Linked DNA regions of Homo sapiens: region 1 is linked to region 2. Evidence: promoter capture Hi-C in human tissues and cell types (Jung and others, 2019). All regions are on one chromosome and are shown on one strand. Each heading gives the region's core, a stretch centred on a gene start or on the middle of the fragment in contact. The rest is flanking DNA. Distances are from core to core; before and after follow the strand shown.

Region 1 (6,893 bases), core at 2,590-5,089, 72 kb before region 2:
ATGACTTCTCCAAGCCTCTCTCCTTGGCTTGTAGATGGCTGTCTTCTAACTCTGTGTTAACAGAATCTTCTCTTGTGCTTCTGTCTTTACTACCTCTTCTTATAAGAACCCATTATATTTAATTAGGTCCCATGCCAATGAACTCACAAGCTTAATTACCTCTTTAATGACCCTGTGTCCAAATACATTCACAATCTGAAGCAATGCTCTTTTTGCCTTTGTAAAGGAAGTTTGTCTGTGGCAAATGAATAAATGGCAGAATTTTACATCATGGGGTCAGTACAAAAAAGGGAGGTGTGCAGGGGATTTAGGCCACTTTCCTTATGTTGGGAACTCTAATGTCACCATCTGAAGGGCCACTTATGAACAGAAGAGTTATTATAGTTATTATTTCTTTTTTATTTTTTAAGGTGGAGTCTCTGTTGCCCAGGCTGGAGTGCAGTGGTGTGATCTTGGCTCACTGCAACTTCTGCCTCCCAGGTTCAAGCGATTCCCCTGCCTCAACCTCCCGAGTAGCTGGGACTACAGGCGTGTGCCACCACCCCTGGCTAATTTTTTTTTTTTTTTTTTGTATTTTAGTAGAGACAGGGTTTCACCATGTTGACCAGGATGGTCTTGATCTCCTGACCTCATGATCCGCCCGCCTTGGACTCCCAAGGCAATTCTTTTAGCCGATCTTTGTCCTTCACACAGACATAACAGAGGTCCCTGGGTGCTGAAAGACGGGCCTCAGGCCCACTTAGATATTTTGGAAGGCTGTGGTTAGGCTCCATTCACTAAATACACGTATATTAAGCACTTAACTTGCGCAGTCCCTTTTGTAGCTGCTTGGCATAATTCAATGAAGAAAGCAGATAATCACAGGGCCTCAATTCTATCTGAAGAGTTAAACACAGTAAATATTAACAGGATGTCCACTGAATATTAAATGGTGATGTCCTCACGGCAATTTTAATCTCCTGGAGCCACCAACTCACTCCAATTGGAACACTAATTATGGAGTGTGTATTACACATGGTAGTGCTTTTCTGTGTTTGTTCACTTCATTTATGACTAAACAACACCATGTCTGATGTAGAGACGTAAGAGTTGATAAAAAAAGAAACAAACACTACCATGACTGATGACATCTCCCTAGTGTTCACCTAAAGAAATTAACCCAATAAGATCAATAAACTCAATGTTAATTATAAAAATTAAAAGAACAACAAGGCCAGGCGCAATGGCTCACGCCTGTAATCCCAGCACTTTGGGAGGCTGAGGCGGGCGGATCACGAGGTCAGGAAATGGAGACCATCCTGGCTAACACGGTGAAACCCCGTCTCTACTAAAAATACAAAAGAATGAGCCGGGCGTGGTGGTGGGCGCCTGTAGTCCCAGCTACTCGGGAGGCTGAGGCAGGAGAATGGCGTGCACCCGGGAGGCGGAGCTTGCAGTGAGCCGAGATCGCACCACTGCACTCCAGCGTGGGCGACAGAGCAAGACTCCGTCTCAAAAAAAAAAAAAAAAAAAAAAAAAAAAAATTAAAAGAGCAACAAAGGAAAGATTGGCTTAGAGTTCTCCAATTGAAAAAAAATGTACTAAATAAAATGTTACAACATATTTACTATGAAATTACATGTTCAAATTATTTTGCAAGCACCATTAAATTTTGTAAAAATTATTCCAATAATTCCCGAGCAGATTATATAAAGAATACTTTATAAACTTTGGAACAAGAAAACTGGCCGGGCATGGTGGCTCATGCCTGTAATCCTAGCACTTTGGGAGGCTGAGGCGGGTGGATCACAAGGTCAGGAGATCGAGACCATCCAGGCTAACATGGTGAAACCCCGTCTCTACTAAAAATACAAAAAAATTAGCTGGGCGTGGTGGTGGGCACCTGTAGTCCCAGCTACTGGGGAGGCTGAGGCAGGAGAATGGCGTGAACCTGGGAGGTGGAGCTTGCAGTGAGCAGAGATTGCACCACTGCACTCCAGCCTGGGTGACAGAGCAAGACTCCGTCTCAAAAAAAAAAAAAAGAAAATTATGCATTAGGTCTACTATCAATACCAGGCAAGTAAAACCTAGATTTACTTAAGGAGATTCTGAACTAGGAACCACAAGATTTTGAAAAAATGAATTCAATACAAATGGGAAAAATAGATTTGCTTTGAAATTGTTTGAGGTTTCCAGTTTGGTAGTAACTTATCAACACTTTAAAAATTACCAGTTTGTTCTAACATATTTTCTTTCTTCTCAAAATAGGTACACATCCACATTCAAATACAATTACTTGCTTCATAATTCCCTTACACTTTATCTTTAGAGTAACATATTTGTATATTAAACTTTCATGTAAGTGAAAACTTAAAGAGTCTATGTGTGTCTGGAAGGCCACAGAGGTTGCATGTTCAAAGAAAAATGTGAGATAACATCTTCTACATACTCACTTAAGATTCAGAAATATATGGCTTTTGATTATATGCCTGTGTAATTTTCATAATAATCATCTTAATGACTCTATAATTAGAAGAAAAATAATAAAAATGTAACCTATGGAAACAATATTCTCCAACGTATTTGAAGTTTAAAGTCACTAAGGATAAGAATCACTAGAGATGCCATTCCACTATATTACTGAATAGTATGTTGTTACCGTCTGTTACCTAGAGACTTGAGTAAGGTAAAATAGGTTAATGTTGGTGGCAGGATAACACCTAATTCAATGCACAACTGTCTTAACACATTAAAAATAATTGTTTTATTGAAACTAAGTTCACACAGTCTAAGAAAAGCATTACAAAATCCACTATACTATCTAATGTGCAATTGGTAAAACAATTTACTAAAATTTGAATAATGCACAAGACTATTACTCTGAACATCTATCTCATGCAGCACTTACAAGTTTTATAAGTCAACCACAAAAGTTTCTCTGTGTACTTTCTTCACACACCTCATATTTCAGTGTCCTCAATCTTCTGTTGAAAAGTATGTAAATGACATCCTAATATAGAACTTCTCAAACCCCGAGCAGCAGAAATTGACCACATGCTTTCATACAGACACTAGGAATAAAGACACAGCATCAAGTAATTTGAGAGTTCAATTACATCAAAATTTGCCTTTGTAAAAATCTAAAATTCTTTCAATGCAAAAAGTGTACTTTGAATATAATTGTTTAAGTCTCAAAATATTAATCTCCTATTTCTGTTTAGGCTAACTAAATTATGTTAACCTTGAATTACTCTTTATAATCAATGCCCTGATTTAGAATAACATTGAAAGTGTTAGCGTCTTAGTGGTTTCTACTGTGAATCTTCTGATGTTCATTTAGACTTAATTTTTTATTAATTTTTTATATTTACTGCATCTGTTAAATGCTTTCATATAAACTAGCGTTCTTTCTTTTTTTTTGAGACAGAGTCTCTGTCGCCCAGGTTGGAGTTCAGTGGCGCGATCTCGGCTCACTGCAAGCTCCGCCTCTCGGGTTCACGCCATTCTCCTGCCTCAGCCTCTCCCAGTAGCTGGGACTACAGGCACCCGACAACATGCCCAGCTAATTTTTTGTATTTTTAGTAGAGACAGGGTTTCATCGTGGTCTCGATCTCCTGACCTCGTGATCCGCCTGCCTCGGCCTCCCAAAGTGCTGGGATTATAAGTGTGAGCCACCGCGCCCGGCCTTAAACTAGTGTTTTCTAAGGTGTACTTTTTAAACAATTTTTTTCATATTCATTACAGTTGTAGGGTTTCTTTCCAATGTAAATTATCTAAAATGGAATAAAATTTGAGCAACTGTTAGAGGGTTACCTTTCAGTATAAATTCTCCTATGTACAACAAAATCTGTAACATAAGTAAAAGTATTGCAACAATCTTTATATTTGTAATGTTTTTCTTCAGTATAAAAACTCTTGTGTACTCTAAGGCTTATATTTTTGAAGTCTTTCCATGTACAAATGTAATGTATCACTATCATTACACCTTGTGTACTCTAAGGCTTTTATTTGGTGACATCTTTCCACAGATAAATGTAATGTGTATCATTACACTTACATTGCTTTTATCTAGCACAAAACCTCTGATGAGTAAGTTCATAGTAGTTATTAAATGCTTTGCCACATTCTTTAAAATCAGAATTTTTCTCAGCATGAATTTTCTTCTGTGCAATAAGCTGTCAGCAATGGTTGAAGACTTTCCCCACATTCTTCACATTTGTAGTGTTTCTCTCCAGTATGAATTATCTTGTGATTTCAATGCCTTGAGCAAGATTTATGGAATTTGCCACATTCTTTACATTTGTAGGATTTCTCTTTAGTAAAAATTCTTACGTAGTAAGGTTTGAGCAGTGATTAAAAGCTTCCCCACATTTTTTATACTTGCAGGATTTCTCTCCTCTTTGAACTCTCTTATGTTCATTAAGATGTGAGCACCGTTTAAAAGCTTTGCCACATTCTTCACATTTATAGCGTTTGACGGCAGTATGAATTTTCTTATGTCTAGTAAGGTGTGAGCACCGATTAAAGGCTTTTCCACATTCTTCACAGTTGTAGGGTTTCTCTCCAGTATGAATTCTCTTATGTTCAGTAAGGATTGAGGACCAGTTAAAAGCTTTGCCACATTCTTCACATTTGTAGGGTTTCTCTCCAGTGTGAATTCTCTTGTGTTTAGTAAGGTATGAGAACCTCTTAAAGACTTTGTCACATTTTTCACATTTGTAGGGTTTCTCTCCGCTATGAATTACCTTATGTTCAGTAAGAATTGATGATGAGTTAAAAGCTTTGCCACATTCTTCACATTTATAGGGTTTCTCTCCCGTATGGGTTCTCTCATGTATAGTAAGTAGTGAGCAGTGGTTAAAGGCTTTCCCACATTCTTTACATTTGTAGGGTTTCTTTCCAGTGTGAATTGTCTTATGTTTGGTGAGATGTGAGTGCCGGTTAAACGCTCTGCCACAGTCTTCACATGTATAGGGTTTTTCTCCTGTATGAATTTTCTTATGTCTAACAAAGGGTGAACACCAGTGAAAGGCTTTTCCACATTCTTCACATTTGTAGGGTTTCTCACCAGTATGGATTCTCTTATGTTTAGTAAGACTCGAGCACCAGTTAAAAGCTTTGCCACATTCTTCACATTTGTATGGTTTCTCTCCAGTGTGAATTCTCTTATGTTTAGTAAGGTATGAGAACCACTTAAAGGTTTTGCCACATTCCTCACATATGCAGAGTTTCTCTTCAGTGTGAATTATCTTATGATAAGAAAGGCCTGAGTGAGATTTAAAGACTTTGCCACATTGCATACATTTGAAAAGTTTCTCTGTAGTATGTCTTATGTTTTCTCTATTTAGATTTGATGATTTACTAAAGACTTTCACACATTTATTATATGGGAAAATTTTGCTAGGTAGAGTTGACAAACATTGGTTAAGTCCATTATAAATTTCTTTTTGATCCTTACACTCACCCACATTTTCCCCATCCTTCCTTAAGTGTAAATCCTCAAGTCCACAGCTTCCATATCTTCTCAGTATCACTTTTTGGAATGAATCTTGCATGCACTGTTCTGGCAAAAGGTCTTCAGTGTAATGAGAAGACATAGCTGAAATATGAAATTAACAAAATATCCCACTTGTTATTTTCAGACTCAGATACATATACTTTACAAATCTAATACAGAAAATTAAGAAAAGGACAGGATGACTTACTAGATGCAGCTGGGAAACACTCACTCCAAGGAGAGAAAACAAAATGTTGAGTAAAACATCATACTTTAAACAGATCTTTTGAGAAAAAGCTTAATTCAGAGGTAATGCAGAAACTGTGGTTGAAGAGGAAGATGGGAAGCTTGCTCAAAGTCACTGGGCACCAGGACTGGCTCGTAGATCCAGACCAGTCTTATGGAAGGGATATGTGAAGAAACCCCAGGGCAACACAGTCTAGCCATGGACCTCTGAGATTCTCACTTTGGTTCCTTCTCCTTGAAAGGCATTTCCCAGCTAAATCTAGTCTGAGCTCCTGATTATAGACTCTCATATGATCCCTATACATCTGTGAACTGGCAGGGGGAGCCACCTGGAGAATAGGCAGAGGCACAGCTTAAACTCTTGTGGAAATCTGCAGTTTTCACTGTGCTGTGCAGCTGTAGCTGACCATAGGTGCCCATCCTCCGAGGCTCTGCATCTTGCACTGAGGGGATCCATCTGCTGCTGTCTGCCAGGCTGAGAGAGAGCAAGGTTGTAGCTATCATGGGACTGAGGTGAATCTGATCCATGCACCACTTTGCCTGCTGGCACCGTCCAAGATGACCTACCTGGCTGGTCCTGCAGAAGGGTGCCCACAGCATGGCATCCACTTATATCACAGATGGTGCTTGACCCCAAAGGGCCAGAGGACAAATCCATGGGCCCAGTGCCAACTGCCCAGGTCTTCAGCACACTGCCTGATAATATCAAGCTGATATATGTGGTCTGAGCTTAAGTGGGGTAGAAGCCCACACTGTCAGCACACAGAGAAGTCATGGGATCATGAGCCAGCATGGGAGCTGAGTTCCCCTTCATTCACATGAATAAACTGGGAAGGGTGTGGCCAGATGACCAGTCATGGTTTCCATCCCAGGAAGCCTAGCAGCATAGAACATCTGGAAGAACTCAGCAATTTCAATGCAGATGGCTTGGGACAAGCCTAGCCAATTCAGCCTGCTCCCAGGGAAGACACTGGAGACAGACCTGCTGAGTTGGGGGACCACAAGCTGGGTGGGCCCCACAACTACCTGCTGGACTAAAAATCCTGGGCTGCAGGTGCAATACTGGTTGCAAACCCATGGTGCAATTGCCCTGCCTGGTGTTCCATCCTCGAGCCATGGCATCACCAAACGACTCACAGACACATTCCATAACCCATCCTTACTTTTGCAA
Region 2 (7,210 bases), core at 4,577-7,076:
GCCACTGCACTCCAGACTGGGCGAAAGAGCAAGACTCCGTCTCAAAAAAAAAAAAAAAAAAAAAGGTTAGAGGAACTGCTAACTATAATAACAAGTTTGGAGAGGAACATAAATGATCTGATGGAGCTGAAAAACACAGCACGAGAACTTCATGAAGCATACAAAAGTATCAGTAGCCGAACTGACCAAGCAGAAGAAAGAATATCAGTATTTGAAGACCACCTTGTCAAAATAAGGCATGCAGACAAGATTAAAGAAAAAAGAATAAAAAGGAACAAAGAAAGCCTCTGACAAATATGGTGTTCTGTGAAGGAAACACATGAGGGTAGAAGAAAAGACACCTACACAATACCTTTAAGGGTAAACAAGCTTTATCCCACATAAATGGCAATGCAGATATAAGTAAATTTTTTTTTTTTTTTTGAGACGGAGTCTCACTCTGTCACCCAGGCTGGAGTGCAGTGGCGCGATCTCGGCTCACTGCAAGCTCCACCTCCCGGGTTCACGCCATTCTCCTGCCTCAACGTTCTGAGTAGCTGGGACCACAGGCACGTGCCACCATGCCCGGCTGATTTTTTGTATTTTTAGTAGAGACGGGGTTTCACCGTGGTCTCGATCTCCTGACCTCCTGATCCGACCGCGTTGGCCTCCCAAAGTGCTGGGATTACAAGCGTGAGCCACCGCGCCCGGCCAAGTAAATTGATATAAGAAAATTGCAATGGAAAGGGGAGAAGGAAAAAGATATATATATATACACACACACACACATAAATATATATATATACACACATATAAATATATATATACATACACACATAAATATATGTACATATATATACACTCACCAGACTATGGAGGATTCATCGCCACACCGGAATGCAACAACCTGGGCTCCAGAGTCAGCCACCCATCCATGCAAGGACAAGGAGAGGTCTCTTTAAGCTTTAGTGCGTTCTGGGGCTCTAGGTCATTTTGTAACAAGTTGTTTGGCATGAGGCACAGTGGAGGGCCCTTGAGACTGGGCTCAAGGAACACAAAAAGTTAACTTGTTTTTGCAATTGGCTATTGTTTTTCAATAACAATATAAAGGAATAGATTGAAATCGAGATTTCTCTGAAACAACTCTAGATGAATGCATCAAGGGGCTCGCAGAACCTATTCTCAGGCTTGGTGACCATCGTTTGTGTCCACATTCAATTCAATTCAAATTTAACTTTTTCTCCACCTTTGGCCTCAATTGGATACTCAATTGTAGGAAAATACCCTTACAGATACATAGGGAAGGCATAGTCGATATAGATTACAGATACAGGGTAAGGACAGGAGAATTAAAAGCACAATTAATAAAAACCACACCCAGCATGGCTTTCTAAGGAGAGTCATATTGTGAGAATTGCCAGGGATATACACACCACATTTAGCATGCAATATGGCACAAATCCCTCCTTGGGCTGCGGTAAGCATATCTAATGCCATTTGATTTTGCAACACAACAGTACTCAGCTGAGCAAATTTATCTGGTAACAACATAAGTCTAGTGCTAATATCATTAAGAGCTTTTTCTACATATAACCTTAATATTTTAGTTTGTTGCTGAAGCAGGATTGTACCAGTGGCAGGGGAGAATACTGTGATAGGGTACTGCCACCAGGGAGGCCAGGGAGGCTGGCACATTCATAACCAGTGATGTTTGTAAGTATCTAAATTACTTGGGAGAGGAATATTAACCCGGATGGTGAATGGAATTAATGGCTATCCCCAAGTTCATCTCCCTGTCCAGTGTGGGGACAGGTATCACCACTCATAGGATCTGCATACCCAGAGGGCTCCCCCAGGGGACAGCAATGGAGCTACTGTAATCACAGTGTACTCATGTATTATTAAAGTAGGAAAGAGATTGTGGTTCACTGGGGGCAATGTTGATTTGGAGTATGTGTTGACAATTGTCTGGAGAAACCCCAGAGTAATATTAGAGGAACCTTTTAAGGCCTCCAGACTAAGCGGGGGCTATAGGGAATCCAGGCACCAGCACAGCTGGTTTCCAAAATATACCATTCCAGGAATATTGGGCAGGATACCAAGGCTTTTGATGAAAGGAGAATGTGGAGTTCACCTTTTGTCTGACTTGGGCAAAGATAGATTGCTTAGTGTGGTCAAAGGAAGTACAGGTTGGACTACAAGTGTTGTTGTGACCCCGTTGGTAACTACATAGCCATTCAGAAATGTTGTCAGGATGATTCTCCAAGGTAGCCCATTCCTGGCGGCCTTTGGCAACTCGACGTATAGAAAACATTGTCTGTGATTGGCTTCTATTGCAGCGGTGGCTACCCAGTTCATGAATTTATTCTTGGCCTCAGACACAAAGACACAGGTGCTGACCATTAGTAGATAGATTATTCCCTGTAATAACAAAAAAGGATAGGAACATCATATTGTTTTTCATCTTTAGGAAATTGTACTATGCCTTCATTTTCTGTTTTCACAGCTACAAGGTCACCAGACTTAGGGGTGGGATCTGATGGATGCTGTACCCATATATTGGCTCCAGGATTTAAGCTACATGAACCAGTGGATCTGAATCCCCGAGTTCTGTATGTAGCCTCTGTTGGGACAGAGATTTCCTCAGGGGTTAATTGTTGACAAGGTACCACTAATAATTGAGCAACCCACATTTGTGGTTTTATAGCAAAAGAATCTGGAGTGGTATTGTATAAAACAACCTTTAACTCTCCCCAGTAATCACCATCAATTATACCACCAAACACTATAATGCCTCTCATTGCAAGGCTTGAACACATTGTAATCCATTCATCCACATTCAAATTTGCATTTATGGTGGAAATTTTGGCCTGTCGATCTTCCTGCTGATTAAATAGTCTGTCAAGAAAAGCAGAGATGCATGAGCATCATCATGGAAAACAGATCCAGGAGTGGTGGCCCAAGCCTGTACTTCTACCAATTTGGGAGGCTGAGGTGGGTTGTTCACGAGGTCAGGAGATTGAGACCACCCTGGTGAACACAGTGAAACCCCGCCTCTACTAGAGAAGTACAAAAATTAGCTGGGCGTGGCGGTGCATGCCTGTAATCCCAGCTACTCGGGAGGCTGAGGCAGGAGAATCACTTGAACCTGGGAGGCAGAGGTTGCAGTGAGCTGAGACTCAGCCACTGCACTCAAGCCTGGTGACCCGAGACTGAGCCACTGTACTCCAGCCTGGTGACAGAGCTAGACTCCGTGTCAAAAAAAATAAATTAATTAATACAGGAAAACAATGATAATGGTAGTGTGTACCAGAATTCATGTATCTTCCCAGTATTGTTTTCCCCATACCTCTTTATTCCCAATTAACCATTTGTTTTGTTGTCATTGGGGCATCCAGGTAGTAAGACCATTTGCTACTGAGCAAGAGTTGGTATACAAGTGACAAATCCTTCTTCCTTCCTTTCGAAGAGCTCAGAGGATGTCTACTAGTTCAGTTAACTGGCTGCTCCCACCCCTTTCTTCATCAGAAATGGTTATGTTTTTCGGTTGTTTGTTTTTGAGATGGAGTCTCAGTCTGTCACATAGGCTGGAGTGCAGTGGTGAGACCTCAGCTCATTGCAACCTCTGCCTCCTGGGATTCCAGTGATTCTCCTGCCTCAGCCCCCTGAGTAGCTGGGATTATAGATGCATGCCACCACACCTGGCTAGTTTTTGTATTTTTAGTAGAGATGGGGTTTCATCATGTTGGCCAGCCTGGTCTCAAACTTCTGACCTCGTGATCCACACATCTTGGCCTCCTGTGGATTTTGAGGGAACTCGTGACCTAAATCATAACAGGAAATTTAGGCCTCATAAAGACATCATGGTTAAAGCAGAGGTGTTTTGTTTCCAGTAAAGTCCAATAGCAAGCTAACAATTGTGCACAGGTGAGGAGAGCTGTCACGAAGCTTTGGCGCAGTCTGGGACCCTAGCTCTTTTGTAATGAGTTGTTTGGCACGAGGCTTAGTCATGAGGACCCTTCGCGACTGAGCTGAAGAAACACAAAAAGGTCACTTGTTTTTGGGATTGTCTGTTGTTTTTCAAGAACGAATGTATAGGAATAGATTGAAATACAGATTTCTCTGAAACAGCGCTGGATGAACGCCTCTAGGGGCTCACACAACCTGTTCCCGGACTTGGTGACCATTGTTTGTGTCCACGTTCAATTAGCACAAATTTATTATTTAACTTTGACTCCACACCAGACTATGGAGGATTCACCACCAGACCGGAAAGCAACAGGATGGGCTCCAGAGTTGGCCACCCATCGGTGCACAGACCAGGAGAGGTATAATGACGCTTCTGCGCGGTCTGGGAACCTAGCTCTTTTTGTAACGAGTTGTTCAGCATGAGGCCTAGTCACCAGGGCCCTTCATGACTGGTCTCAAGGAACACAGAAAGGTCAACTTGTTTTTGTGATTGTCTATTGTTTTTCTTTTTCTTTCTTTCTTTTTTTTTTTTTTTTTTGAGACGGAGTCTCGCTCTGTCGCCCAGGCTGGAGTGCAGTGGCGCGATCTCGGCTCACTCCAAGTTCCGCCTCCCAGGTTCACACCATTCTCCTGCCTCAGCTTCCCGACTAGCTGGGACTACAGGCGCCTGCCACCAGGCCTGGCTAATTTTTTGTATTTCTAGTAGAGACGGGGTTTCAGCGTGTTAGCCAGCATGGTCTTGATCTCCTGACCTCGTGACCCGCCCGCCTCAGCCTCCCAAAGTGCTGAGATTACAGGCGTGAGCCACCGCGCCCGGCCTTGTCTATTGTTTTTCAATAACGAATGTATAGGAATAGATTGAATAGATTGACATAGAGATTTCTCTAAAATAGCACTGGATGAACGCCTCAAGGGGCTCACACAACCTCTTCCAGGACTTGGTGACCATTGTTTGTGTCCACGTTCAATTGAGTTCAAATTAAATATTTAACTTTTCCTCCACAAATTCCCCTGTCTTGATGAATTGGTTTTGTCTGGGCAAAGGGCAAGGTAAACTCCTTGGGCGGTTACACAACCTCCACCTCCTAGGTTCAAGAGATTCTCCTGCCTCAGCCTTCGGTGTAGCTGGGACTACAGGTGTGCACCAGCACGCCCAGGTAAGGTTTTGTATTTTTAGTAGAAATGGGGTTTCACCGTGTTGGCCAGGGTGGTCTTGAACTCCTGACCTCAAGTGATTCGCCCTCTTTGGCTTCCCAAAGTGCTGGAATTACAGGCGTGAGCCACCGCGCCTGGCCCTAAATGATTTCCTTTCTGTCTCCTATAACAGTTTGAAATTACTTAAAAGTTGTTTCAAATTGAAAAAATAAAAAGAATGTAGATAAAAATAAAATATAAAAAGTTAAAAAAATTACATTAGATTACAAAATATATATGATGTATATGTAAGTCTCGAGAGGTCAAAAATGACAAATTTGATTTACTTACAAGGTTTTATTAAAATTAGCTTTCGTATTGATAATACACTATTACCAAAGTAAAAGTTTTCTCTTGAACAAAAATTTTTTGTATTATTAATATGACAGCCAAATACTTCTGTTCACCTTTTGAATACATTCAAAAAGAGAAAGAGTAAAAAAGAATTTTCCCATGCTCTCCGGTGGGCCTGGCTCAGCTCAAGGAGGAAGCCCGGCCTGAAAAGGCTGCAGCTGAGGCTGTGACTCTTTCTTCACTCAGCCCAGCATGTGATCACATCTTCTGTCACTCAGGGACTGAGGAGGCGGGGCCTTAAGCATTATCCAATCAGGGACGCTGGGTTGGAAACCGTCCAATCATGCAGGCAGCTGGAGCGAAGAGGAAGGCTTTCGGGTTTGGCGCGGCCATTTGTCTCTTGCTGCAGCTGGTGCTCCAAATCTGGTCTTAGCTGCTTCGTGTCTTCTTCTCCAGCCTCTGTGGCCCTGTGACCTGCAGGTATTGGGAGATCCACAGCTGAGGGACCCCCGGAAGCCTAGAAATGGTGAGAGTGCCTTTCCAGCATTCCGAGAGAGGGGAGGGACTGGTTGGAACCGATGGGAAGTGGCTGTGGCGGGACTTAGGCCTCCCCGCAGTCAGCTCCACAATCTGCGACCGACTTCTCCTTGCCCAGTTCGGCCTCAGTCCCCTTCAGCCATAAGATGGCAACAGCGCCGACAGCCGGGCCCCGCGGCGTCCTGTCTCTTCCCTGCCCTGGCCTGGAGCCCTCTCTGGGCAGCTCTGCACCCACAGCGCTGCGTCTCTCCCAGATTGTGCAGGGAGCACGGGAGGGTTCTCGGGGGAGAATCCTGACTCGGGGTGCAGGTTCATGAATGGGAAGAGCTTTGGTCCATGGGGTTGACAGTTTCTCTTTTCTCCTATTAAAAACTTATGGGGCCGGTCGCTGTGGTTCATGCCTGTAATCCCAGCATTTTGGGAGGTCGAGGCGAGCGGATCACTTGAGGTAAAGGGTTGTTAGTACAACGTAGTTCTTCTTCAAAGACGCAACTTCCTGGTCATAAGTTGGAAAAGTTGTAAATCACCCCTACCCCTTCTTCTCCCTTCTCCTTTTCTCACAAATCGCGCATTACCCGATTTGGAAAAAGCTTGAGTGTAAGCCAACCGGGATCAGCTTAGATTGTGCGGTCTGACCCCAGCCAATGGAGGGAAAACAAAAACAGAACTGCATTAGGGCTAATAACCCCTTCCCGGCCAGGCGCGGTGGCTCCTGCCTGTAATTTCAGCACTTTGGGGCGCCGAGGCGGGCGGATCACGTGGTCAAATTTCTAGACCAGCCTATCCAACGTGGTGAAACCTCTCTCTACTAAAAATACAAAAATTAGCCTGGAGTGGTGCCAAGCGCCTGTAATCCCAGCAACTTGGGAGGCTGAGGCCCGAGAATTGCTTGAACTCGGGAGGCAGAGGTTGCAGTGAGCTGAGATCCCTCCATCGCGCTCCAGCATGCGCGACAGAGGGAGAGTCCTCAAAAAAAAAAAAAAAAAAAAAAGTAAGCATCTTAAAATTTCCATCCTTTATGTAAACACTGTGTTTTAGTAACTTCACTGTATTTTCCAACACTTAGTTTCAAAAACCCAGTGAATAACTCTGGCATGGAAATTAAAGCTTGAACCTAGTGATTCCGAGCTAAGGCTAATATTAAGCCTGCAAAAGGAGGGTTTTTTTTTTTTTTTTGAGATGGAGTTTGTCCAGGCAGATGCAGTTAAGATTAAGATGAAAGGAAACTGGATGGGTC

The links. Contacts are between HindIII fragments. The study calls those that stand out against the background at their distance.
Region 1: a contact is called between a fragment that was not itself captured here and the fragment with the promoter of ZNF90 in region 2, in 2 of the 25 tissues and cell types used here (hippocampus and mesendoderm cells).

The regions. Positions count from the first base shown.
Region 1 is chr19:20,001,698-20,008,590 of GRCh38, forward strand. It overlaps ZNF682 (zinc finger protein 682), which reads right to left. Exons shown (of 4, transcript NM_033196.3): 4 at 2,721-5,578. The coding sequence ends at 4,308. It also overlaps the pseudogene BNIP3P12. Among named protein-coding and RNA genes, the nearest start is that of ZNF682, 34 kb to the right of the region's middle. The HindIII fragment of the contact is 3,190 bases long and covers 2,245-5,434 here.
Region 2 is chr19:20,072,174-20,079,383 of GRCh38, forward strand. ZNF90 (zinc finger protein 90) reads left to right here and starts at 5,827. Exons shown (of 4, transcript NM_007138.2): 1 at 5,827-5,962. The coding sequence starts at 5,960. RefSeq lists an enhancer at 5,770-6,249. The HindIII fragment of the contact is 4,387 bases long and covers 2,435-6,821 here.